Regions from separate parts of the Homo sapiens genome. Here all the other regions are linked to region 5. The links are contacts of gene promoters, found by promoter capture Hi-C in blood cells and fetal thymus (Javierre and others, 2016). All regions are on one chromosome and are shown on one strand. Each heading gives the region's core, a stretch centred on a gene start or on the middle of the fragment in contact. The rest is flanking DNA. Distances are from core to core; before and after follow the strand shown. Region 1 has its middle 56 kb from the start of NCAPH. Region 2 overlaps ARID5A (AT-rich interaction domain 5A). Region 3 has its middle 4.8 kb from the start of ANKRD36. Region 4 has its middle 14 kb from the start of NEURL3. Region 5 holds the start of CNNM3 (cyclin and CBS domain divalent metal cation transport mediator 3). Region 6 overlaps NCAPH (non-SMC condensin I complex subunit H). Region 7 has its middle 76 kb from the start of NCAPH.

What was found. The method cuts DNA at HindIII sites, captures the fragments that hold promoters and counts their contacts. A CHiCAGO score of 5 or more calls a contact.
Region 1: a fragment that was not itself captured here is called in contact with the fragment with the promoter of CNNM3 in region 5 in 4 of 17 cell types (activated CD4 T cells, naive CD8 T cells, non-activated CD4 T cells and 1 more); the score reaches 8.5 in activated CD4 T cells.
Region 2: a fragment that was not itself captured here is called in contact with the fragment with the promoter of CNNM3 in region 5 in 14 of 17 cell types (neutrophils, megakaryocytes, monocytes and 11 more); the score reaches 10.5 in neutrophils.
Region 3: a contact is called between a fragment that was not itself captured here and the fragment with the promoter of CNNM3 in region 5, in 3 of 17 cell types (non-activated CD4 T cells, total CD4 T cells and naive CD8 T cells). The highest score is 7.1, in non-activated CD4 T cells.
Region 4: a contact is called between a fragment that was not itself captured here and the fragment with the promoter of CNNM3 in region 5, in 1 of 17 cell types (total CD4 T cells). The highest score is 5.7, in total CD4 T cells.
Region 6: a fragment that was not itself captured here is called in contact with the fragment with the promoter of CNNM3 in region 5 in 3 of 17 cell types (activated CD4 T cells, total CD8 T cells and naive CD8 T cells); the score reaches 7.7 in activated CD4 T cells.
Region 7: a fragment that was not itself captured here is called in contact with the fragment with the promoter of CNNM3 in region 5 in 4 of 17 cell types (activated CD4 T cells, total CD4 T cells, naive CD8 T cells and 1 more); the score reaches 7.3 in activated CD4 T cells.

The regions. Positions count from the first base shown.
Region 1 is chr2:96,389,542-96,392,997 of GRCh38, reverse strand. No RefSeq gene overlaps it. Among named protein-coding and RNA genes, the nearest start is that of NCAPH, 56 kb to the right of the region's middle. The HindIII fragment of the contact is 6,592 bases long and covers 1-3,456 here.
Region 2 is chr2:96,539,084-96,542,463 of GRCh38, reverse strand. The region is part of intron 1 of ARID5A (AT-rich interaction domain 5A); the gene reads right to left. Among named protein-coding and RNA genes, the nearest start is that of ARID5A, 4.0 kb to the right of the region's middle. The HindIII fragment of the contact is 3,388 bases long and covers 375-3,380 here.
Region 3 is chr2:97,106,469-97,110,218 of GRCh38, reverse strand. No RefSeq gene overlaps it. Among named protein-coding and RNA genes, the nearest start is that of ANKRD36, 4.8 kb to the left of the region's middle. The HindIII fragment of the contact is 7,335 bases long and covers 1-3,750 here.
Region 4 is chr2:96,489,920-96,493,241 of GRCh38, reverse strand. No RefSeq gene overlaps it. Among named protein-coding and RNA genes, the nearest start is that of NEURL3, 14 kb to the left of the region's middle. RefSeq lists an enhancer at 1-266. The HindIII fragment of the contact is 2,542 bases long and covers 423-2,964 here.
Region 5 is chr2:96,814,767-96,818,403 of GRCh38, reverse strand. CNNM3 (cyclin and CBS domain divalent metal cation transport mediator 3) reads right to left here and starts at 2,136. Exons shown (of 8, transcript NM_017623.5): 1 at 902-2,136. The coding sequence starts at 2,126. RefSeq lists silencers at 1,280-1,389, 1,400-1,539, 1,550-2,529 and an enhancer at 2,870-2,989. The HindIII fragment of the contact is 9,370 bases long and covers 1-3,637 here.
Region 6 is chr2:96,349,443-96,352,999 of GRCh38, reverse strand. NCAPH (non-SMC condensin I complex subunit H) reads right to left here. Exons shown (of 18, transcript NM_015341.5): 7 at 980-1,169. Among named protein-coding and RNA genes, the nearest start is that of NCAPH, 15 kb to the right of the region's middle. The HindIII fragment of the contact is 4,387 bases long and covers 1-3,557 here.
Region 7 is chr2:96,409,938-96,413,726 of GRCh38, reverse strand. No RefSeq gene overlaps it. Among named protein-coding and RNA genes, the nearest start is that of NCAPH, 76 kb to the right of the region's middle. The HindIII fragment of the contact is 4,622 bases long and covers 1-3,789 here.

The DNA of each region.
Region 1 (3,456 bases), core at 359-2,858, 420 kb after region 5:
GATGAAGAGCTGGGAGGCTCAGTGGACAGGAGGGGAGAGGGCTGGCGGAGGCCACCTGATGGTGTGGGGTCAACAATACATGCTTGGGTGCTGAGTGCAGTGGGAAACACACACATACAATCACACACTGATACAGTTTCAATACATGATGCCACGTAATCTCATGTTGAATTGTAATCCCCAATATTGAAGATGGGGCCTGATGAAAGGTGATTGGAACATGGTGTAGAATTCTCATGAATGGTTTAGCACCATCTTCTTGGTGCTGTCATTGCAATAGTGACTGAGTTCACGTGAGATCTGGTCATTTAAAAGTGTGTGGCATCTCCCCCACTGCACTCTCTTTCTCTTTTTTTTTTTTTTAAAAGACAGGATCTTGCTCTGTCACCCAGGCTGTGGTGCAGTGGCACAACCTTGACTCACTGCAACCCCCACCTTCCGGGTTCAAGTGATTCTCGTGCCTCAGCCTCCTGAATAGCTGGGATCACAGGTGCGCACCACCACGCCCAGCTAATTTTTGTATTTTTTGTAGTGACGTGGTTTAACCATGTTGGCCAGGCTGGTCTCAAACTCCTGACCTCAAGTGATCTGCCCACCTTGGCCTCCCAAAGTGCTGGGATTCCAGGTGTGAGCCACTGCACCTGGCCCCCTACTCTCTTTCTCTTGCTCCTGCTCTGCTATGTGAGATGTCTGCTCCTGCTTCATCTTCCACTGTGAGTAAAAGCTCCCTGAGGTCTCCCCAGAAGCTGAGCTGATGCCTGTGTCATGCTTCCTATAGGCTGCAGAACCATGAGCCAATTAAACCTCTTTATAAATTACCCAGTCTCAGGTATTACTTTTCAGCAATGCAAGATAATACACACACATGCAAGGGCTAATACACACACACAAACACACACACACACACGCAACTGGTGGAGAGTGACCATTTGGTAGAGGCAGGAGTTAAGTGAGCACGCCAACCCCCAAACCAACAGTGATAAATGTCATGGGAATGACACAGCGAAGGTTGCTGCCTAGGCATTAGAAGCAGAACCACACACCCAAATGGTTCAAGCAGGTGACCAGAGGTAAGAACTTAGAAGCAGCTCTCTCACCTAGCAGCTCCCCACTTTTCCTGCTGCTTCTGTTTAATGGACCATTCAGGCATTTGTGCATGAACTTAAGGTGACCCACATCCTATTTCCTTATCTATACTCCTGGGCTCTGATGAGCCTCCTTATACATACTGTCAGTTGCTGCCTCTCTCTCTGTCTCTCCCTTTCTTTCTCTCTCTCTCTCTCTCTCTTTCTGCCTGACCCTTTGTTCCTGCTTCGTGTGAGCCAGGGACAGGAGACATCCTCCTGACTCACTGTGCCTTCCCTGCCCAGGATCTGAAAGTAATAAATCTTTCAGCTTGTTTCTGATTATGGTGTACTGCGCCCTCCATCTGAAGAACCAGGGGCTACCCCAGGCGGAGTTTTCCCTGGGATGCCAGGGAGAACACAAGGTCAGGATCCTAGCATCAGAGCAATGGGCAGGCAGGACATGGGTCAGACAAGGGCCACCAGGTGTCTGCCAGTATAAACAAGTTTCCCAGTGAGGGACACCTGGTCATGGATCAGACAACTAAGCAGCAGGCTGTCCACAGTTAGAAGTAACGAAAGGCACAGTGTAAACACCCACATCCTGCTCCTGCTTATTTCGTGTTAGGGCGGTGTTGCTAGGCACTGTGGTACCGGACCCCCAATTTAGCTGGGGGCTTTCAAAACAGTAAAATACTGGATTTAAAAAAAATACTTAAAGGCCAGGTATGGTGGCTCACACCTGTAATCCTAACACTTTAGGAGGCCAAGGCAGAAGGATTCCTTGATGCTGGGAGTTCAAGACCAGTCTTGGCAACATAGAGAGACTCCATCTCTACAAAACTTTCTTTTTTTTTTTTTTAATAAGTTGGGCATAGTGGCATGTGCCTGTTGTCCTAGCTACTCCAAAAGCTGAGGCAGGAAGATCGCTTGAGCCCAGAGGTTCAAGATTACAATGAGCTATGATCATGCCACTGCACTCCAGCCTGGGCAACAGAGTGAGACTCTGTGTATTAAAAAAAAAAAAAAAATCAAAACAAAACAAAACAAAAACCCCAAACTTAAAGATACTGGAAATCAGACAGAAACCAGAAGAGTTTTATTTATTTTTTATTTTTTTCGAGACAGGATCTTGCTCTGTAGCCCCAGGCTGGAATGAATTGGTGCAAACACGGCTCATTGCAGCTTCGACCTCCTGGGCTTAGGTGATCCTCTCACCTCAGCCTCCTGAGTAGCTGGGACTACAGGCCCATGCCACCATGCCTGGCTAATTTTTGTATTTTTTGTAGAGATGAGGTCTCGCCACAATGCCCAGGCTGGTCTTGAACTTTTGGGCTCAAGTGATCCTCTGGCCTCAAAGTGATCCTCTGGCCTCAAGCTCCCAAAGTGCTGGGATTACAGGCATAAGCCACTGCACTCAGCCATAGTTGTTTTTTGTTTTTTGAGACAGGGTCTGGCTTTGTCGCCCGGGCTGAAGTGCAGTGGCACAATTGCAACTCACTGTAGCCTTGACCTCCTGGGCTCAAGCCATCCTTCCACCTCAGCCTCCCAAGTAGCTATGACCACAGGCGTGTGACACCACGCCTGGAAAATTTATGTATTGATTGATTGATTTTTTTTCAGAGACAGGGTCTCACTGTTGCCTAGGCTGGTCTCAAATTCTTGGGCTTAAGTGATCCTACTGCCTCGGCCTCCCAAAGTGCTGGGATTACAGGCCTGAGCCACCACACCCTGCCTCAGAAGAGTTTTAAACTAAAACTAAAATCAAAACAAGCAAACAACAAGACAGTTCTGGGCATGAGCTGCTTTGCTCCACTGACAGTTCAGCTGTGCCTACGTGAAGCAAACCCCTCAGGGCCTGGTGAAAGAGTCTTCTCTTGAAAGACAGCTATGCAGAACAAGGGCTGTGGGTCTGATGCTCCTTGCCTCAAACACATGCATCTTGGGTTTCAAAAAGCTGAAGTTAAGGACAGAGCACACAGCAGGCAGAGCGGCTGGAAATTAGGGGAATCCCTAGAAGCAAGGAAGTCACAGCCACGATGAACCCCATGTCTGCCCAAATACTTGGCTAGCCACCAAATCTGGCAGGCAGAGGAAAGACCTGTGGGATCAGGCTTAAAGCAATAGCGGGTCACAAAAAGAACAGATATCAATAACTACACTGTGAGGGATGTGAAGTTTGCAGATTGAATCCAGACAATTAACTGCTTACTGGAATAAAAATCCAAGCATCTTTAGAAGAACATGACAGAATCCAAAGTCACTATAACATTGTATCTACAATATCCAATGTTCAACCAAAAGTTACTAAACATGCAAAGAAACAGGAATATGTGATCTCTATTCAGGAAAAGGGGCAAATAGAAATTGATGCTATGCGGGCCCAGATGTT
Region 2 (3,380 bases), core at 819-3,318, 280 kb after region 5:
GGAGTTGGGTGCTCGTGTTACCTGGAAAGGAGGTCACCAATCCGAGCTGTTTAACCCCAGATGGGAAAGGGATTAGAGCTGTTCGCCTTAAGCCACAAAGGGAAACATTCTATCTCTGTGTCCAGCTGAGTCCCCAGATGAACTCGGTCTCCATTCTCAGGGTTAGTGCTCTGTCCTGCCAGGGCCCTCTGGGTTGCAGGCCTTTGGGCCCCCTCTTCTGCAGCATTAGATGAGCAAGAAGGGAGAGTCCTCTCCCCCTTGGTCTCCAGGGTGCCCTCTGTCTTGTCCCTGGCTGCCCTAATCCCTCCCTTTCCCTGATCATTCACAGATCAGGGTTATATTTGTAAAAGGGGTTCTGCTATAAAAAATAAGCTTGAAACCCGCTGCCATAGATGTTGGGCCATGCAGGTCCAGCGTTGGGAGGTAGAGAGCTGGGAGCCAGGCAGGCAGGACCTGCATGGTGGGGTGGGCCCTCTCCTGGCTCTGTGGAGGAGGGAAAAGGCTTATGGAGCTGGAGGCCCCGTCTCCCAGCCCCACTCAGCCCACAGAGGCAGGAGAAACCCACTTGCCCCTGATAGCTGCTGCTGCTGCTGTGAGCCACCGCACTACTGCCTTGTTCCCAGCCTGTGTGTGCAGATTCTTTTCTGGCACAATGCCTTACATGTTTTATTTGTAACAGAAGTGGGGGATCAAATGCAAAAAAGAAAACTGCTCTCCATAAGAATGTCATCCAGACTTCACCTTTCTCCATCCAGCAAGCAATAATGATGATGATGGTGATTATTGTCTCATTACTCACTTGTAACACATCTGGAATCTATTCCAGTATACAGGATGAAATAGGGATCCTAGCCATACTTTCCCCTCATTGGTTGGGGGCCCCAGTGAGTAGCCTCCTCCTCCAATGGTGTAAAATGCTACTTTCCCCATAATGTCAGTGCTTATAAGGAACACATCTGGGACTATTTCTGGACTTTCTATTCTGTCTCATCCACAGTGGGATGCTAGGACCTGTGCACACTGTTTTAATTTTTGTAGCTTTATAAAACAACTTACTATCCAGAGGGCAAGTTGCCCAATATTACTCATCTTTTAAAAATATTCCATTTGAACTTTGGGATAATTCTGTTACATTCCCTTTAAAAAAAAACAAAAACAAAAACACTTTGGGAGGCCGAGGCGGGCAGATCATGAGGTCAAGAGATCGAGACCATCCTGGCCAACATGGTGAAACCTCGTCTCTACTAAAAATACAAAAATTAGCTGGGGGTGGTGGCGCATGCCTGTAGTCCCAGCTACTCAGGAGGCTGAGGCAGGAGAATCGCTTGAACCCAGGAGGTGGAGGTTGCAGTGAGCTGAGCTCGCGCCACTGCATTCCAGCCTGGCGACAGAGCGAGATTCCTTCTCAAAAAAAAAAAAGGCCAGGTGCGGTGGCTCACGCCTGTAATCCTGGCACTTTGGGAGGCCAAGGCAGGCAGATCACTTGAGGTAAGGAGCTCGAGACCAGCCTGGCCAACATGGTGAAACCCCATCTCCACTACAAATACAAAAATTAGTGGGCGTGGTGGCACACGCCAATAATCCCAGCTACTCGGGAGGCTGAGGCAGGAGAATTGCTTGAACCCAGGAGGTGGAGGTTGCAGTGAGCTGAGATTAGGCCACTGCACTCCAGCCTGGGTGACAGAGACTCCGTCTCCAAAACAAACAAACAAACAAACAAAAAACCCCCACTACTGGGGCTTTGATTGCATTTAAATTTAGAAACTACTTTGAGGAGAAATAATACCTTTACAGTATTGCATCTTTCTTTTCAGGACCATGTGTCTCCATAATTCAGGTTTCCCTCTGCAGTCCTCAGAAGTTCCTTCTTAAAAAGCCCCTGTGCTTTCTTGGGGAGGTTTATTCCTAGTTTGTTCCTTGAGTTTTGTGCAGCTAGAAAATGGTGTTAGAAAAACCCTGATAACAGTAGTTCACTCCACAAAAGCCCCCCTGCGATTTCCTCATTTCACTGCTGGGAAGAGGGCCGAGGCAGGCTAGGTGGCTGCGCCAGAAGATGAGCCTGGGCTCCTAGTGACCCAGTCCCTTACTAAGCAGAGAGGGGGTGCGGCAGGGTGCTGGGCAGGAGGATTGCCTGAGGCTCTTCCTGTGCTATGAGTCTGATTTCTTTCCAACTCCATAGCTCCTGTCTGAGTCAAGCTCAACTCCCAGATCCTAAAACTCCAGCACTGAAGATGTTAGTCTGTCACTGCCTCCAGTAGAGGATGCTCCCATAGGTCTACTTGTTCTCAAGTTACATGCTCCACCGACTCAAATCAGTGCCCTGGCTGGTGTGGGCTAGGCATCTCATACAACATTGCATTGCTGAATCTTCCCAGCCATCCAGATATAACAGATATAATGTCTGAGGCTCAGAGAGGTTCAGTAACTTGCCTGGGGCCACAGAGCTTATCCATGGCAGAGCTGGGATTCAGAACCAGGGTAGTCTGACTCCTGAGAGACGCTGATCCCTGAGAGCTAGAGATTTTTTTCTTTCTAATGGGAGCAGGGAGACCTCAAGTTCCTTATCTGTGCTCAGAGGATGCAAACTTGTCCCCTTTCCCCAAGTAGATGTGCAGTTTCCCAGCACATCGCTCCTGTCACTCTGCTAACAAGAGCAGGTCTGTGTTGACTGCTAAGGCATCCAGGCTCAGGGATGGGAGGGGGCTGGTCAGAGAGCTGGGCAGCAGCGGGGAGAGGGGGAGGGCCGGGAAGGGGCATGGCCCCCACACTCTATGAATCAACTTCCCTGGCCTGGGTCGGGGAGGGCCCAGAGGACCCACCATCTTTGAATAAGGGGTGTTATCTCCATAATCTTGAGGAAGGAGGAAAGACCTGTTGATACCTACTGAGATTCCATTTAAAAAACTGCTACCTGTTACCTGAGAGAGTAGGGGGCCAGCTCTGGCCAGGGCCCAACCAACCTGGCGAAGCAAAGGCAGGTATGCAAAGGCAGGAAGGTGAAGGCAGTCGGGCGGTGGTTGAGAGTCACTGAAGACAAACTTAAGATGTCTCACGGGGCTTAGCCAGGACTAGAAGGTAGCTATGGGGCCAGGCAGTGGGTGGATGCGGGGAAGTCAGTGGGCCCCTGCCCTGCCAGACATCAAGCTGGAAGCAGATGAAAGTGGGCCAAGAGGACAGATGGGGCAAGGGGTTCCAGCACTGCATGGCTGCACCTCTTACCAAGTTGGTCACTGGTTCTGTATCTCCCTTTCCCCATCTACAAGATGGGCGTGCTAGACTCAATGTGCCCAATGTTCTCAGCAGAAAAAAGTGAGAAGAGAAAGGAGGCTTCCCCCACAAACCACAGCCAGGCTCAGTGAGAAGATCAGAGGCCTGCCTGT
Region 3 (3,750 bases), core at 723-3,222, 290 kb before region 5:
GAAATCAAATATTACAAATGTGATAGTATTAAGAGGTGGGGACTTTTGGAGGTGATTAGGCTATGAGGGCTCTGCCTTCATGAATAGGATTAAATATGCTTAGAAAAAGGAATGATGGAGGAAGTTAGACTCCTTTTGCCCTTCAGTCTCCTGCCATGTGAGGACACAGCACTCCTCCTCTCTGGAAGATGCAGCCTTCAAGGCGACATCTTGGAAACAGAGACCAGACACTCACCTGACAATGAATCTAATGGCCCCTGGATTTTGGACTTCCCAGCCTCCAGAACTGTGAAAAAACCAAATTTCTGTTGTTTATAAATTACTCAGTCTATGGTATTCTCTCATAGCAGCCCAAAACAGACAAGACTGTAGGAAATCAATTTGTATTCAGCACATCAACAAAATTCTTTACAAATGGGACTCCCCCCAATAGGTGGGTGTCACTAAAGAGAGGTGCCCATAAGCATGAGACAATGACCACGTGGCATGAGCAACGAACTACGATGAATGAGCACGTTACCACCACTAAAGACAAAACTTACATGACTAGATGACAACAAAATAATTTCTTATAATGAATTTCTCATTGTATTTTTTCTTAACCTTCCCTCCATTTAGTCAGGAATCTGGCTCTGACTCACACCTGAAGGACAGACAAGGACTTTTGTTTCCAAAAGCATAAACTGAAAGGAGAACTCGCAGAGTCTACAGAAAAGAGAAAAGACATTTGTCAACAGGGAGTGTTTATCTTTTTTAACTGGAGGGAGAGAGCAGGGATGAGGAGAGGAGATGCCTTCGGTATTGGAAAAAAACAATATTGTAGAGTTTTCCATCCCGGTACTAACAAAATTATAAAGGCCAATAAGAAATAACTGATAGCAATAAAACAAGGAAAGGGGCATAGCCTAATACAGTAAAGAAACTGGTGACTCAAAGAGAGAAAGGAAAAGAACATTCTGGAGCAAAATAGAGAGGGTCAGCATTTAGCTCCTAAGTTCCTCTTCCATCCTCCAGCCCCACCCTCCACATCCACCTCCAAATCCGGTGATTTTGAGCATAGTGAAGCACACTGACACTGAAGGGTGTCCTTATACGATCCTTCACTTGCTGGTGACTGGTGGAAACAGATGCTGGGGAGAAACAGGAGAAACAAGGTGGAGGGACATCAGGGTGCACTTCCTCTAAGAGAAGTCAAGGCTACACATGGAATGAGGAAAGCAAACCAATGCCCAGGGGAGTCCTCATGGTACTGAAACAGGAAGAGCCATCTGTTGCCCAAGCATTCTAACCAATGCTCAGAGCCCTCAGCCGCCCTTTCCCTCTACTGTCTCCTCATTCCCTTGGGCTACCAGGAAAAGTGGAGATGTTAATGGGCTCCAATCAAAGGCCACCATGAACACATCTGTAGTTGAAGAAGTGAGTTATTACTGGTTAAGTGAGGGAGAATACAAACTACAGGGAACAGTGGGGTGTCTCACTAAGAGGACATCAGAAAGGACTTAGAGGATTTGGGGTTGTGTTAGGCAATAATCTGGGAGAAGGGTTTAAGGAAATGGGGCTTTGTTCTGAATTGGGTGTTGTCAGGAAGTGGGGGTAATTCTAGCATAGCAGGGTATCTTAATAAATCTTATGTAGAAAGATGTAAACCTGTATTAAAGCCTTAATGGGTTAAGGCTATAATTGGTAAAGAACGTTAAAGCTGTAGTTGGTGAAGAAACAGTAGTTACTCTTCTTAGCTAGAATAGAGACATTGGTCATTTGTGTGATATGAACAATGCTCATGCTTTGCTCATGCTCAGACATGATTATGAAGAGGTCTTGTTTTTGTCTTAAGTATTGGCACAAAATGATATGGTATGAAGCAGATGTTCTATGGAATTGTTTATGCTCACAAGAGAACATCAACATCCATCTGTGGGTGCCAGGCAGCTCACAGCATCGCCAACTCCCGGCAGATAGGACCAGGTCAACTCCTGGCTGCCAGACACACCTCTTCTCTTTCTCAGAGGAACACAAAATACCCAATGCTCATTCTGTAGCTCAACAGGAAAACACATTCTCAGGTGAGCTGGAAAGAAAGTCGCTCATCTAATAATGACACAATTTTAAAAGACTGGTCAATTCAACTACATCAAAGACAAACAAAACAAAATTTTTTGCATGGCAAGAAAAGACTACCACCACAGTCAGAAAACAAATGAAAGAGTAGGAAAATAGGTTTGCAACTTATATCATAGACAAAGGGGTGCTATCTCTCATATACAAATAGTTCTTACAAATTTAGGGGAAATAGACCAACAATATATTGAAAAAATTAAAAAGATACGCATAGAGATTTCATAGGAAAATAATTGGAAGTTGATCTTAAACATGTGAAAAGTTACGCAACATGGCTCATAAGAAGATAAGTGTAAATTAAACATATTTCTATGCTCTGTTGTTAGGTGCATACACACATGCAGGATTGTCATGTCTTCTTGGAGAATTGACTCCTTTTTCTTAGGTAATGTCCTTCTGTATCTATGGTAACTTTTATTGCTCTTTAAGGCTGCTCTGCCTGAAATTAATAGAGATATGTTGGGGGTGTTTTTGATAAGTGTTAGTATGGTATATCTTTCTGCATCCCTTTAATTTATGCAGGTGCATCTTTATATTTAGAATGTGTTTCTTGTAGACTACATATAGTTGAGTCCGACTTTTTAATCTACACTGACAATCTCTTTTATTTTATTTCTGTCTTCCCACCTTTTATTTTAGGTTCAAAGGGTACGTACGTGCGAAGGTTTTTTTTTCTCATATGATTTTTTATTATACTTTAAGTTCTAGGGTACCTGTGCACAACGTGCAGGTTCGTTACATATGTATACATGTGCCATGATGGTGTGCTGCACCCATTAACTTGTCATTTACATTAGGTATATCTCCTAATGCTATCCCTCCCCCCTCCCCTCACCCCATTGACAGGTCCTGGTGTGTGATGTTCCCCATCCTGTGTCCAAGTGTTCTCACTGTTCAGTTCCCAACTATGAGTGAGAACATGCGGTGTTTGGTTTTCTGTCCTTGTGATAGTTTACTCAGAATGATGGTTTCCAGCTTCATCCATGTCCCTACAAAGGACATGAACTCATCCTTTTTTATGGCTGCATAGTATTCCACGGTGTATATTTGCCACTTTCTTTAATCCAGTCTATCATTAATGGACATTTGGGTTGGTTCCAAGTCTTTGCTATTGTGAATAGTGCCACAATAAACATAAATATAAAGCATGTGTCTTTATAGCAGCATGATTTCTAATCCTTTGGGTATATACCCAGTAATGGGATCACTGGGTCAAATGGTATTTCTAGTTCTAGATCCTTGAGGAATTGCCACACTGTCTTCCACAATGGGTGAACTAGTATACAGTCCCAGCAACAGTGTAAAAGTGTTGCTATTTCTCCATATCCTCTCCAGCACCTGTTGTTTCCTGACTTTTTTAATGATCGCCATTCTAACTGGCATGAGATGGTATCTCATTGTGGTTTTGATTTGCATTTCTCTGATGGCCAGTGATGATGAGCATTTTTTCATGTGTCTGTTGGCTGTGTAAATGTCTTCTTTTGAGAAGTGTCTGTTCATATCCTTCGCCCACTTTTTGGTGGGGTTGTTTGATTTTTTTCTTGTGAAATTGTTTAAATTCTTTGTAGATTCTGAATATTAGCCCTTTGTCAGATGGGTAGATTGTAAAAATTTTCTCCCATTCTATAGGTT
Region 4 (3,322 bases), core at 444-2,943, 320 kb after region 5:
GAGAGGTGAACAATTGGGTGTGAGGCAAGACAAAGCCCCAGAGATTAACAGCTCCCAAGGATAGCAGGAAGCTTCCACATCTGGAAGTTTCACCATTGGCTCATGCTGCCCAGCAGCACATCCCATCCCTTCATTCCACTTTACACAGGTACACCAAGTCATAGCTGCATGTCCTGCACCTGTCTGCAAGCAGGCCACTTAGGCTAACAAGGAATTTCAGATCCAAAGGTGAACTCACAGCCAAGAAAAGCCAAATATTTGAAAAAAGTGAATATCATGATGGAAAGGACTGACAGCAAAAGGAGTTCATACCTGAAAAAATAGGGTTAATAAAGCATACAAACCTGGGCTTTAGGATAACTATAATCACATATGAAAGGATATTGCATTGAAAAATCTAGATACCTTTGGAATTAGAAGCTTGACTATTAAAATTTAAAATAACTTATTTGATAGAGTGAGTAGCAGAAAGTATGTAGCTGAAAAATGTATTAATGATCTGGAATCAACCAGAATGCATTCCAAAATTAACAAGAGATGAAATATATAAAAAGAGAATAAACAGAATAGATGAAGTTCAAATAACCATCCAATGTGAATTCCAGAAGAAAAAAATAGAGAAAATGGACAAAAGAGAAACTCAAAGAAAGATTAGAGCTGGGCATGGTGGCTCATGCCTATAATCCCAGCACTTTGGGAGGCCAAGGTGGGAGGATCGCTTGTGGCCAGGAGTTCAAGACCAGCCTGGCCAACATATAAGACTCCCATCTCTACCAGAAATAAAAATAAAAGAACAATTTCTCAGAATTGAAGAAAGACATAGCTTTTCAGATTGAAAAAGCCCCCCAGTTGCCAAACAGAATAAGTGAAGAAAAGACTTTCATTTTGACACATACTGGTGACATTTCAGAGTACCAGGGATAAACAGAAAACCCAAGAAGAAAAAAAAAACACCCCAAAACAGATCACACACAAAAGTATTAGAATCACATTATCAGTAGGCTTTTTCTCAGCAATACTTGGTACAGAATGACAATAGAACAATATCTTCAAAGTTCAGGGGGATTTTCTTTAATTGAAGCATATTTACTATAATAATATGCACATATCTTTTTTTTTTCTTTTTGAGACAAGGTCTCACTCTGTCATCCAGGCTGGAGTGCAGTGGCACAATCATGGCTCACTGCAGCCTCCGCCTCCCTGGCCTCAGGTGATCCTCCCACCTCAGCCTTCAGAGTAAGCTGGGACTACAGGCACATGCTGCCACACCTGACTAATTTTTTAATATTTAGTACAGATGAGATCTTGCAATATTGCCCAGGCTGGTCTTGAACTCCTGGGCCCAAGTGATCCACTTGTGTTGGTTTCCCAAAGTACTGAGATTATAGGCATGAGCCACTGTGCCTGGCCTATGCACAGATCTTAAGTCCCCATTTTGATGAGGAAATAATTTTGAAATCTAAAATTCTGCAGACAGCGACTCTCTCATTCAAAGGTGAGCGTAAAATGAAGAAATATTCAGATATAAAAAGACTCAAAGTTTATCATTTAACAGATACTTTATAGGCAAATTATTAGAAGAATCACTTCAGAAAAAAGAAAAAACAAGAAAAATTAGTATGATTGTAACCATTAAAAGCAAAAAAAGTTGAATCTAAGTAAATGTTAATTGTAAAAAATTAATAATAATTTGAAATGAAAACCACAGATGATATCAACATGGGTGGAATGGCAAAAATAAAAAGCATGCTAAGGTTCTTTTCTTATCAAGAAGAGGGTTTTTAAAATTTTTTTAGTTTTTTTGAGACAGAGTCTTGCTCTTGTTGCCCAGGCTGGAGTGTAACATTATGATCTTGGCTCACTGCAACCTCTGCCTCCTGGGTTCAAGCAATTCTCCTGCCTCAGCCTCCCGAGTAGCTAGGATTATAGGTGCCTGCCACCATGCCTGGCTAATTTTTGTATCTTTAGTAGACAAGGTTTCACCATGTTGGCCAGGCTGGTCTTGAACTCTTGACCTCAGGTGATTTGCCCGCCTTGGCCTCCCAAAGTGCTGGGATTACAGGTGTGAGCTACCACACCTGGCTAGGAAGAAGTTATTTTTAACAATATAAATGAGAAAAAAATAAGTTTAATTTGTATGGTAAAGAACATACAAACAAAATGTAGAACTACAAATAAAATATATAAATTCCAAATCATGTGAAAATAATAGAACTTCAATTCCTGCATCCCAACAAAAGTCAGGAAATTGGATAAAAGGATTTTTAAAAATGTATATAGTCTAGCCCTGTCATCCAGGCTGGCACAATCGTAGCTCACTGCAGCCTCAAATTCCTGGGCTCCAGCTATCCTCTTGCCTCAGCCTCCCAAGCAGCTGGTACTCCAGGCATGTGCTACCATGCCTGGCTTCTTATTTTGTTTTATTTTTTATTTTTATTTGTAGAGACTGAGTCTCAATATGTTGCCTAGGCTGGTCTCAAACTCTTAACCTCAAGTGATCCTCTGACTTCAGCCTTCTGAATAGCTGGGATTGCAGGTGCAAGCCACTGCACCTGCTGAGACAACACACTTTCTGATTTTGAATTATACTACAAAGCTATAGTAATCAATACAGTATGGTACTGGCATAAAAACAGAAAAATAGATCCATAAAACAGAATAAGGATCCTAGAAATAAACCCATGCATATATGATCAACTTATCTTCAACAAAGCACCAAGAATACAGAATAGGGAAGCGACAGTCTCTTCAATCAATGGTATGGAGAAAACTGGATAGCCACATGAAAAAGGATAAAATTGGACCCTATCTTACACTATGCACAAAAGTCTACTGAAAATGGATTAGACTTAAATGTAAGACCTGAAACCGTAAAACTCCTAGAAGAATGATTTTTTGGATATGACATCTAAAGCATGAGTAACAAAAGCAAAAACAAGTGGGACTGCATCAAACTAAAAAGCTTCTGCATAGCAAAGGAAACAATCAACAAACTGAAAAGGCCACAGTAGAAAATATTTGCAATATTTTGTATACAATAAGGGGTTAATATCCAAAATATATAAGGGACTCATATGACTCAATATTAGAAAAACAAATAACCTGATTTAAAACTGGGCAAAAGACCTGAATAGACATTTCTCCAAAGAAGACATAACAATGGCCAATACGTATATTAAAAGGTGTTCAATATCACTAATCATCAAGAAAACTGCAAATAAAATCCACAATGAGATATCACCTCACACCTGTTAGAATGTCTAATGTCAGAAAGTCAAAAGATAACAAGTGGTTGTGAGGATATGAAGAAACAGGAACCCTT
Region 5 (3,637 bases), core at 887-3,386:
AAGCAAAAAAAAAAAAAAAAGGGCCGGGCACAGTGGCTCACGCCTGCAATCACAGCACTTTGGGAGGGCGAGGCAAGTGGATCACCTGGTCAGGAGTTCAAGACCAGCTTGGTCAACGTGGTGAAACCCCATCTTTACTAAAAATACAAAAATTAGCCCGGAATGGTGGGGTGCATCTGTAGTCCCAGCTACTCGAAGGCTGAGGCAGGAGAACTGCTTGAACCTGGGAGGCGAAAGTTGCAGTGATAAGAGATCGGCCACTGCACTCCAGCCTGCGCGACAGAGCTGGGAGAAAGGGAGACTAAGTCAGCATAAATGGAGTTACTTTTGGTGAAAGCAAAGTGTTAAGTTTCCCTGACTTTACCGCAGATAAGGGATTGACACCTAAATACCCTTATCTGCAGTAACGCCAGGGACCTTAAGAATGCTCTGAAGGAAACATTACAGGTCCAGTCAATTTGATATTACATGTGTGCACACAACAATATCCCAGATACCTGGAGACTACCATCTTTTCTATGTTCTTCTAGTTTCTATCCAAAAATTTGGACCTGCTACAAAGTCAAGCACACAGAAACACTCTGGGAGAGGGAAAGAGCTGGGGGATTAGAGGACAAGCGGACATACCCCTCCCTGCAAATGGGGGGGGGGGGCTATCCTGACGCGGGGGTTAAAGTGTTCGCTGTCTAAAGGATTCCTCCCACTCTGATCGATGGCCTTTAAGTATTTCAAAAGGTCATTCCAAGCTGCAAGGCCAATACCGTCTTGAAAAGGGACCTTAGAGGTCTCACTGCTCTCCACAGGGGTGGGACCCTTTCCAGAAGGCTTCCATAACTCTCCACCCCTTTTCAGGGAGAGGGCACTCGCACGGGCGTCCCCTGCACCATGCCCGGGCCGTTACCTCGCTTGAATTCCTCCAGGACAGCGTCCAGCTTGGTGTCGTTGAAGACGAAGTGGAGCGGATGGTTGTAGAAACGAGTGATGGTGCTGAGCGGCGTGCAGTCTTCGGGATCCACGAAGGCCAAGTCCTTGAGGTAGAGCATGTCCACGATGTTGGAGCGCTCCTCCTCGTACACCGGGATGCGCGTGTGGCCGCTCTGCATGATGCTGGCCAGGACGCCGAAGTCCAGCACGGTGCTGGCGTCCAGCATGAAGCAGTCTTCGAGGGGCGTGAGCACGTCCTCCACGGTCCGGCAGCGCAGCACGCCCTTGCTGAGATCGCTGTAGGGGTCGCCGCCGCCGCGCGCCAGCTCCAGCACCCGCTCCCGCAGCCGCCCGGGCCGCGCCGCCAGCTCCAGCAGCTGCCCCACGGGCAGCGCGACGGGCAGAGTGAGCAGGACGGCCAGGCGGCTGAGGCCGAGCGCTCGCGGCGCCAGCGCCAGCGTCCAGCGCCCGCTCACGGCGGCCGGCACCACCTCTCCCACCAGGAACACGAGCCCCGCGCTGCCCAACACGGCGGGCACCGCACGCTGGCCGGCCGCGCGGTACAGCAGCACCGCCAGCGCCGCCTGCGCCAGGCTGGCCAGCAGCAGCAGCGCGCCCAAGGCGCAGCCGGCCCAGCGCCGCGCGGGCTCCAAACGCCGCGCCGCCGCACGCTCCGCCTCCGAGCCGCTCTCGCGCAGCACCTGCACCTCGGCAGGCGCCAGCGCCAGCGCGCTCAGCTGCAGGCCTCGCGCCAGCGCTGCCAGCGCCAGCAGCCCGGCCGCCCCCAGGCCCAGAGCCCAGGGCGGCGCCGCCTCCTCAGCCGCCCCGCCACCCGGCTCCACGCGCACCGCCAGCAGCGCCGAGTGCGGGCGCACGGCCTCGGCCCGCAGGCGCAAGCGCAGCAGCGCGCGCCACTCGCCCGCGGGGGAGGCCGCCTCCTCCCGGCAGCCCGCCCCCTCCGGGGCCACCCAGGACCAAGAGCTGTTGGCGAAGCCCGGGCCGAAGAGGCGCAGGAGGAAGGTGGCGTCCGGCGTGTCCCGCGCCGCCCCTCCGCGTACCCAACCCGCGCCCGCCGCTCCATCCTCCTCCAGGCAGAAGCCCAGCACTCGCGGGCCCGGCGCGGCCTCCCCCGCGGCGTTGCCCAGGCAGAGCGCGGCGAACAACCAGCCTAACCGACCCGCCGCAGCTACCGCCGCCGCCATCGCCTGCTGCCCCCTCTCGGCCTCTCGCGCAGCCTACCCCGCTCGCCCCGCGCCTCCCCGGGCCAATCGTTACGGCTCTTCGCGCCTCCTCGGCCAATAGGCGGTGGGCGGGGGCGGGCCCCAGGGTCGGACTAGGCTGCGCCGGGGAGTAAACAAGTGGCGGCCAGGGGCGGGCCGGGGGCGTGGGGCTCCGGGCCCCGCCGAGTCTGCTGCGGCTCCGGATGCGCGGGGTGGCAGTGGCCGGGAGGACGCGGGGCGGCGGGCAGGGCCTCCCAAGCCCGGCTGTCCTCGGCCCGTGCGCGGCGCCCGGAGTCCCACTCCTCCCGATGCTGTCCCCCGCGCCCGGAGGCCGAGCCAATTCTCTGGGAAGTTCCCGGCTTGGGAGCGGAGCGGCCGGTCGGAAGAACCTCGGGTGCTGGCGCGCCTGAAGTTGCAGACCAGACTGAAATGTGCGAGACATGTGCCTTTTTCTTAGGAAAGGCCCCAGGTACCAGAAAGGTTTTCAGCGCGCCGACCTACGGGGCTAAGAGGGCTGAAATAAGAACCAGTGACTGAGCGCCGGGAGGTTTAAGGTTTATGGAAGATGTTCATCGCGCCGTACCCTACTAGAGGTTTGGGGACGTGGGACACAGCCCCTGCGTTCCCGCCGCGGACCCCGTGATAAATACACAGACACACAAAATCACTACCGCCTTGAATCTGGACAGCTACCTCAGGTGGTTAATATCTAACAGGAGCAGAGTGGAGCTCAGAAAGACTCAGCGTGGGTGCTGGGTTCCGGCGCGACCAGCCTGATACCTAGGTCAGCATCTCAGCCACACAAGCAGGCGGCAGTTCTGTCAGGAATTACTACATCTGGTGATTCCACTTCTCATAGCTCACCGCTGGGAGAATAATTCCTCAGGATTAACAAGATCTATTCCAGAGGATCCTCACTGCTGAAGCGATTTTAGAAGACAGTGTGGTCTGTTGACAGTATGGAATATTCTTTACCCATCAGATATGATCTGTATGTGATTGGAAGGAAATAAACCAACTGCTAACAACACTTCTCTATAGATGTTCAGATTCAGTAATTTTTGTATTTTTCTCTACACTTTTGTTTTTTCAAATTTCCTAGCACAAGAAGACTTTGACTTACTGCACATGTCATTTTAAATGACCTTTATAAAGACTCTATAGAAACAATTTGCTATGTCATGAAAGTAACAATCAAAAAAAGTATGCACATTGTGGCCACAAAGTAAAACTTGTGTGGAAGGTAATGTGCAAAAAAAAAAAAAAATGAGTAAGCTGGTGGTGAGTGACCAAAGGAAAAGGCTTTGTAAAAAACTTTTTTTTTTTTTTTTGAGACGGAGTCTCGCTCTGTCACCCAGGCTGGAGTGCAGTGACGCAGTCTCGGCTCACTGCAAGCTCCGCCTCCCGGGTTCACGCCATTCTCCTGCCTCAGCCTCTCCGAGTAGCTGGGACTACAGGCGCCCGCCACCACGCCCGGCTAATTTTTTTGTATT
Region 6 (3,557 bases), core at 206-2,705, 460 kb after region 5:
GTGACCTATGCTATAGCTGGGAAATCAAACGCTTCGTCTTAAAAATACACCAAGTACATAGGCAATCATGTAATGGTACTTTAACTTATTTTTAGTCCCAAACTAGAGAAGACTTACTTCAGGGGATTAGAGCCCCAAATGAGAGCACAAACTTGGAAAATAGATCGTTAGCACAAAAACTATACTAAACAAAATTGAGGCAAGAATAGAAATGACAAGAATGGGAGCTAACAACTGCCCAGCCTGGAGGGGAAGTATTAATTTCATTCAACACATAAAAATGACCGCACTTGAGATGAAGATCAGCGAGAGTACGAACACTGCATTGGAAATGTGCAGGAGGGGGCAGCTCTTCTGGGACCCCAAGTGTAGCTACTGCACTGCACGCACCTGGCCTCCCTACCTGCTGGCACCTCATTACAACATCCCAAGGAGAACCCCCAACTCAGGCGTGGAGGCGTATATGGGAGGGATGCTAAAATCTCTGTCAAGCCAGTATAGGGGACTGATAATAGGAGAGATCAGTTCTTAGACTGCTGCAGAGGAGTCTCAAAACAATTCACAACGCTCTCTTCTCCTCAGGGCCCCCTGGATGGGGAGCAAATAAAAACAAAGCCTCTCTGGCTAGGCAAAGGTCTCTCTAAGTCCCCTTCCCAAGAACAAACTGACACTCCAGGAGGAACCCAGGTCTCCCAAATGTGACTTGGAGAGCTGACTGCAAACAGTGGGCACCTAAGGTACCGGGCACATCAAGACCAAGAGGCGATGGTTTACCGTTTTAGACTCCACGCCGCAGAGAAGACAAAAGTTAGTGGGTTGCAAGGCACTCCCAAAAGGATACACAATTTGGCATTCCAGAGGAAACTTCTGGGTAATTTAAGCAACATAAGAGCATGATGGGCTTATTGTACCCCATGGTTATGTAAAAAAATTCCCCAATGACTGAAATGCTCTGGTGAAAGGCATCACTTGTACTTACCTTTTAAATCTGTCATTTCTACACAACCTAACTCTGGCAACTCGAGAGGTTCTCCCGTGGAGAGAGTCTGGACATCAGAGGGAAACAGCAGTTCACTTCTGTAGTCCTGGCAGTGGAGAGTGGACAGAAACACCCCTGCTGTGCTGCACTCATCAAATGAGGCTGCTGTCTTCTGAAACATGGGATCAATCTGAACACAGAGAGAGAAGAAACTGAAGATTTACGGCATGTAGCCAAGGGAAAGATAAATTCTCATGCATTTGGCCCCACTCATTAGCAGGTATATACACTGGACTGAAATATCTCCACTCATGGTCAAAAGTGGTTTGTTTTTGTTTTTTTTTTTTTTTTTTGAGATGGAGTCTTGCTCTGCCGCCCAGGCTGGAGTGCAGTGGCATGATATTGGCTCACTGCAACCTCTGCCTCCCAGGCTCAAGCGATTCTTGGGCCTCAGCCTCCAGAGTAGTGGGACTACAGGTACGCACCACTACATCTGGCTAATTTTTGTATTTTTAGTAGAGACGGGGTTTCATCATATTAGCCAGGCTGGTCTTGAACTCCTGACCTTAAGTGATCCACCCACCTTGGCCTCCCAAAGTACTGGGACTACAGTTGTGAACCACCGCACCCAACAAAAGTGGCTTTCTAATTGAGCAGATAAAATCCCGGTTCAAAAGAAAGGCTGGTTATAGTCAGGAGATAAACATATACTGCTCCAGAAGACAGTATGTGGTGGCAAGTGTACACTGTGTCAAATGGCTTTTTTATAATACATCTGGACGTGTATCCTTGCTGCTGGTCTCCTTCTATAAGTCACTAACAAATGCCATTGGCTTAAAAAGCCTGTATGATAGGGCTAGTCACAGGGCTCTATTGTTCCTCTGAACAGAAATATCTTCTAAAGTTTGGAAGAACATACCCAAGATATCCAGGCAAAGGACAGAGTCAGTAGGGCTAGCTGGCTGGGTGAAACCTGAGAGAGGTTTTAAGAAGGTCCCTAAGGCTGGGTCAGGAGCAGGAATGGCATGGCCATATGACACCAAGCCCAAAGGCAAAAACAGGCACTGGGCATAAGAACAGGGACAGGGTGAATCACACACATGTGCAGCAAGAGGCTAGAAGCCCCCTGGGACTCTGCAGGTGACCTTGAGACAGGAGATACGGTTGGGTATGGGGTTCACAGGTCTTCCTGATGCCTCAGAACGTGGCTACTATGGAGAGAGAGGGGCTTGGATAGGACAACACAGATGTGCCTCCCTGGCTCTTCCCTGGTCCCCTTAGCTCGGAGTCCAAGCTCATCAGAACTGAGGTTCAGCTCCTGCCGTACCATAAACCCATCTCACCATTCTTTGTCCCAGAGCAGCACATTCGTCATCTCCACATTCTCCCATCCCTTTAGCCCTCAGGCAGCCACACGTCCAAGTCGGTTTCCTCCCAGTGCATCTTTCCATCCCCAGAGCCAGCAATATGACCCTTATCTCTGGCCTCTCCCAATTCCCATCCTAAAAATACCTATTTTTTTTCCCCATCCTAAAAATACCTAAAAATAGGTTACTCCTATTCCATTCTCAAATGCTATCCAGAGTAATGGTTTCCCACCTGGAGCCCTGCACCCCTAAAAGTCTTGTGTAGGTAGTTAACGGAACTATACTCAGCACTTCAGAGCCAACATGGAAATTGTACACTGACCCACATTAAAGCTGAAAGCACTATGATAATGTTCCTCACTTGTGTCTAGAATTATATCATGTGTGACAACAGAGGGATTTATATCCCCAAGCAATTCAATGGGACAATGAATTATGGCTGACTGTGTAGTTTGAGTAGATGAAACCTTCTGAAACAAGGGTCCACAGTAAGGAAGGACCACAATAAAAGGCCTTACAATAGACTGAATGATAAAGTTCAAGATCTCTTTAGGTGATTTCTAAAAGCAAATCCTTGGCGCTAGCCAAACTCGTATACTCTCCAGCTTCCTAATCAGAACCTTCCTGTGCTATGGCTTTTGCTTTTACACCTCTGCTTAGAATCACCTCCCTGGCAATGCCTACCTGACAAGACACCTAGCCTTCCTTCATGGCCCAGTTCAAGTCTTGCTTCTTCCATAAACTCTGAGCCCTACCAACTCTGGTTTCCTATAGCATGTGCCTTGACCTTCCTTGCATTCATCTACCTGTATTCTCCTGGTATAAAGAACTGAAGCATAATCATGTTTGAATCCTCTATGACAGCAAATGTTCTGCAAATACCAAAGAGCTGTGTCCAAAAGAGATCGGCTCATATATAAAGAAGTGCTCTCAACTGGTCTAGACACACCCACACATTTGCTTTCTGATCTCCAAGAAAATGAGAGTTTACACCTGTAATCCCAAGTGTACTGGGAGGCCGAGGCAGGCAGATCACTTGAGGTCAGGAGTTTGAGACCAGCATGGCCAACATGGCAAAATCCCATCTCTACTAAAAATAAAAAAATTAGCCAGGCATGGTGGTGCACGTCTGTAATCCCAGCTACTTGGGTGGCTGAAGCAGGAGAATTGCTTGAACCCAGGAGGTGGAGGTTGCAGTGAGCCAAGACTGA
Region 7 (3,789 bases), core at 818-3,317, 400 kb after region 5:
GCCAATCCTAGGGGAACAATCAACAGGACTACAGTTGCAGCAGTGGAATGCCCTGCCTGGCCCCCAGCCCTGGACATTGCCCCATTCACCTGTCCCTCGCTTCTCTAAACCTCCCTGTAACTCTGTCTTCTGGACCCATGTGTCTGCTGGGTGTACAGCACCCAGCACTTGGAGCCAGTGAGTATCATATGTTAAGGAAAAATTGTTGGGCTTGGACCAATCACCCACCCCATTCCAGCCAGAGCCTGTCTCTTGTTTGTTCACCGACTACACACCCTATCCAAACCAAGCCTCTGGCTCTTGTCCTCTAAGTGGCACTGTTAAAGCGGAAACACGAGAAGGAATAAAGGAGCTTATTCTTTTTTCCTTCTTATTTATTTATTTAGAGACAGGGTCTTGCTTCATCACCCAGGCTTGAGTGCAGTTGTTACAGGAAAGGGGTCCTGATCCAGACCCCAAGAGAGGGTTCTTGGATCTCGTGCAAGAAAGAATTCAGGGCGAGTCTTCAGTGCAAAGTGAAAGCAAGTTTACTACGAAAGTAAAGGAATAAAAGAATGGCTACTCCATAGACAGGGCAGCCCCAAGGGCTCCTGGTTGCCCATTTTTATGGTTATTTCTTGATGATATGCTAGACAAGGGGTGGATTATTCATGCCTCTCCTTTTTAGATCATATCGGGTAACTTCCTGATGTTGCCATGGCATCTGTAAACTGTCATGGCACTGGCGGGAGTGTAGCAGTGAGGACGACCAGAGGTCACTCTTGTGGCTATCTTGGTTTTGGTAGGATTTAGCCAGCTTCTTTTCTGCAAACTGTTTTATCGGCAAGGTCTTCATGACCTGTATCTTGTGCTGACCGCCTATCTCATCCTGTGACTTAGAATGCCTTAACTGCCTGGGAATGCAGCCCAGTAGGGTTCTGCCTCATTTTACCCAGCTCTTAGTCAAGATGGAGTTGCTCTGGTTAACACGCCTCTGACACAGTGGTGCGATCTCAGCTCACTGCAGCCTCTGCCTCCCAGGTTCAAGCGATATTCGTGCCTCAGACTCTTGACTAGCTGGGGTTACAGGTGCATGCCACCACACCCAGCTAATTTTTGTACTTTTTAGTAGAGATGAAGTTTCAGCATGGTGCCCAGGCTTGTCTTAAACTCCTGAACTCAAGCGATCCTCCTCCCTTGGCCTCCCAAAGTGTTGGAATAAAGACGTGAACCACCGTGCCCAGCCGTGGTGTCTCTTCTTACAAGGTCACTAATCCTGCAGAACAGGGTCCCACCCTCGACCTCACCTCGTTTAACCCTTATTGCTTCCTTATAGGCCCTATCTCCCAATGTAGTCACATTGGTGGTGAGGGCATCAACATAGGAATTTGGAGGTGAAGGGGAGAAAAAAATGTATAATTTCTTTTCTCAACCCTCATAAGTTCCTAGCTGGGACACCTCTGTAACAAAAGACAGATCAATAGGAAAAAACGGTTGGGCTCAGTGGCTCACGCCTGTAATCCCAGCACTTTGGGAGGCCGAGGAGGGAGGATCACTTGAGGTCAGGAGTTCAAGACCAGTCTGGCCAACATGGTGAAACCCCATCTTTACTATAAATACAAAAATTAGCTGGGCGTGTAATCTTAGCTACTAGGGAGGCTGAGGCAGGAGAATCACTTGAACCGGGGAGGCAGAGGTTGCAGTGAGCCGAGCCGAGATTGCGCCACTGCACTCCAGCCTGGGTGACAGAGCAAGACTCCGTCTGAAAAAAAAAAAAAAAAAAAAAAAAAAAACAAAACAGGAAAAAAAGGAATATAATTTTTTTGGTGTGAATGTACAAATTTATTGACATGCATATGAACAGAAGAGACACATACAAAATATAAGACTCAAAGAAGGGGCCAGGCCACTGAAGTTTTTACATCATCCTGAGGTTATAGAGGGACACAGGTTATGGGAAAGTGTGTCTAACAAAGGCTGTCTTGTGGTGCAGATGAAAATATCCCTCAGCCGGACATTGTGGCTAATGCCTGTAATCCCAGCACTTTGGGAGACTGAGGCAGGAGAATCGCTTGAGCCCAGGAGTTTGAGACCAGCCCTAGCAACATAGCGAGATACCATCTCTGAAAATAATTTTTAAAAATTAGCTGGGCATGGTGGTGTGCACCTGTAGTCCCAGCTACTCAGGAGGCTAAGGTGGGAGGATCTATAGAGCCTGGGAGTTTGAGGCTGCAGTGAGCTCTCATTGCACTACTGCCCTCCAGCCTGAGCAACACAGCAAGACCCTGTCCCGAAAAAGAGAAAAAAAAAAAAAAAAAAAAATCCCAGGTAAACTCAGAGCTGCCCTCAGAAAGAATAGATGGTGGCCTTTGGTAAAAGATTCTCTCTGAGACCTTTAAAAGTGTCAGACTTCAGTGTTTATTTTCCTGAGTTAATCTTTCCTAGATTCAGATAAGGGAGGCATTACCCCCAAAACCGGGTTTGTTTGCCTGGTGAGTAACAAATGACTCTCCATGAGGATGCAGGTTTTGATCAATAAAAGTTTTATTACCTGGCCCAAGTAGGTAGAACCCTGGGAGTATTCTCCAAGGCAGTGTCCCCTGAGGGAAAGTGACAGGAGGGTTTCATGGGGCGATGGAGGGGGAGAGGATGTGTCTTCGCATGTGGAGGAGGGGTCCCAGAGGTGCAGACGCAGTGATCCTCATGCCAGCACATAGGTCGCATGTGATGGTGATGGAGCTGAGCTGCAGCCCTTCCTGGGGTGGAGACTTTAGCATGGTAACAAGAAAGGTCACTTGGGTTCATCTGTAAGTTGCTAGGGTCTGTTGGGAGCTGGTTTGAATCAAGTGGGTGACTGCATTCTAAACAGGGCTTGGAAGAAACAGGCTGCAGGGCAGGAGGCTGTAAAACAGGCTGATAGGCTGGGCGTGGGGGTTCAAGCCTGTAATCTAACACTTTGAGAGGCCAAGGTGGGTGGATCACCTGAGGTCAGGAGTTCAAGACCAGCCTGGTCAACATGGTGAAACCCTGTCTCTACTAAAAATACAAAAATTAGCTGGGCGTGGTAGCACGAGCCTGTAGTCCCAGCTACTCGGGAGGCTGAGGCAGGAGAAATCCTTGAACCAGGGAGGTGGAGTTCGCAGTGAACCGAGATCACACTCCAGCCTGGCACTCCAGCCTGAGTGAAAGAGCGAGACTCTGTCTCAAAAAAAACAAAAAACAAAACAAAACAAAAAAACCCAAAACAGGCTGATTGCTTAAGTTGATTAAATTCCTATAATCCTTTGAGATCCCCCAACCCCCTCACCCCTGCACCCCACTTGCTTACAGGGTCCTCAGGGAAAGCCTGGGCATTGATTTCACTAACATAGATTTTCTCTCCAGGTGCAACTCTCCCTCACGAAAGGCAGCTTTTCAAAGTCCTTCTTCTGTTTGCAGCCTCTCTGAATAGCCATCTCAAAATAAGCCAAAGAGGTATATTTTGGGGTGAAATATTCTCGTTTCCTTTGGGGGAACACAAACATTCAACCCATAACAGAGACAGTCCCTGTCAATGTCATGTGTTAACAGTCAGGAGGCAGCCCAGGGTGGAGCGGCAGGCTGGAGACCCGGGATTGCTGGGCTGAGATCCGGCTGGGGCATCCCTGAGAGCAGGAGGTGGCTGGACCGCGGGAGGTCAGTGCCTGCCTGGCGGGGAGCCCCAAGGGCACCTGTCTGGGCTAGCCAAGAGGAGAGCATCCGCCCCGGGAGGAGTGCAGGCAGGACTCCCGCTGACAGGGCCTGCTTGGTAGATGCTGGGCAAGTAATTAG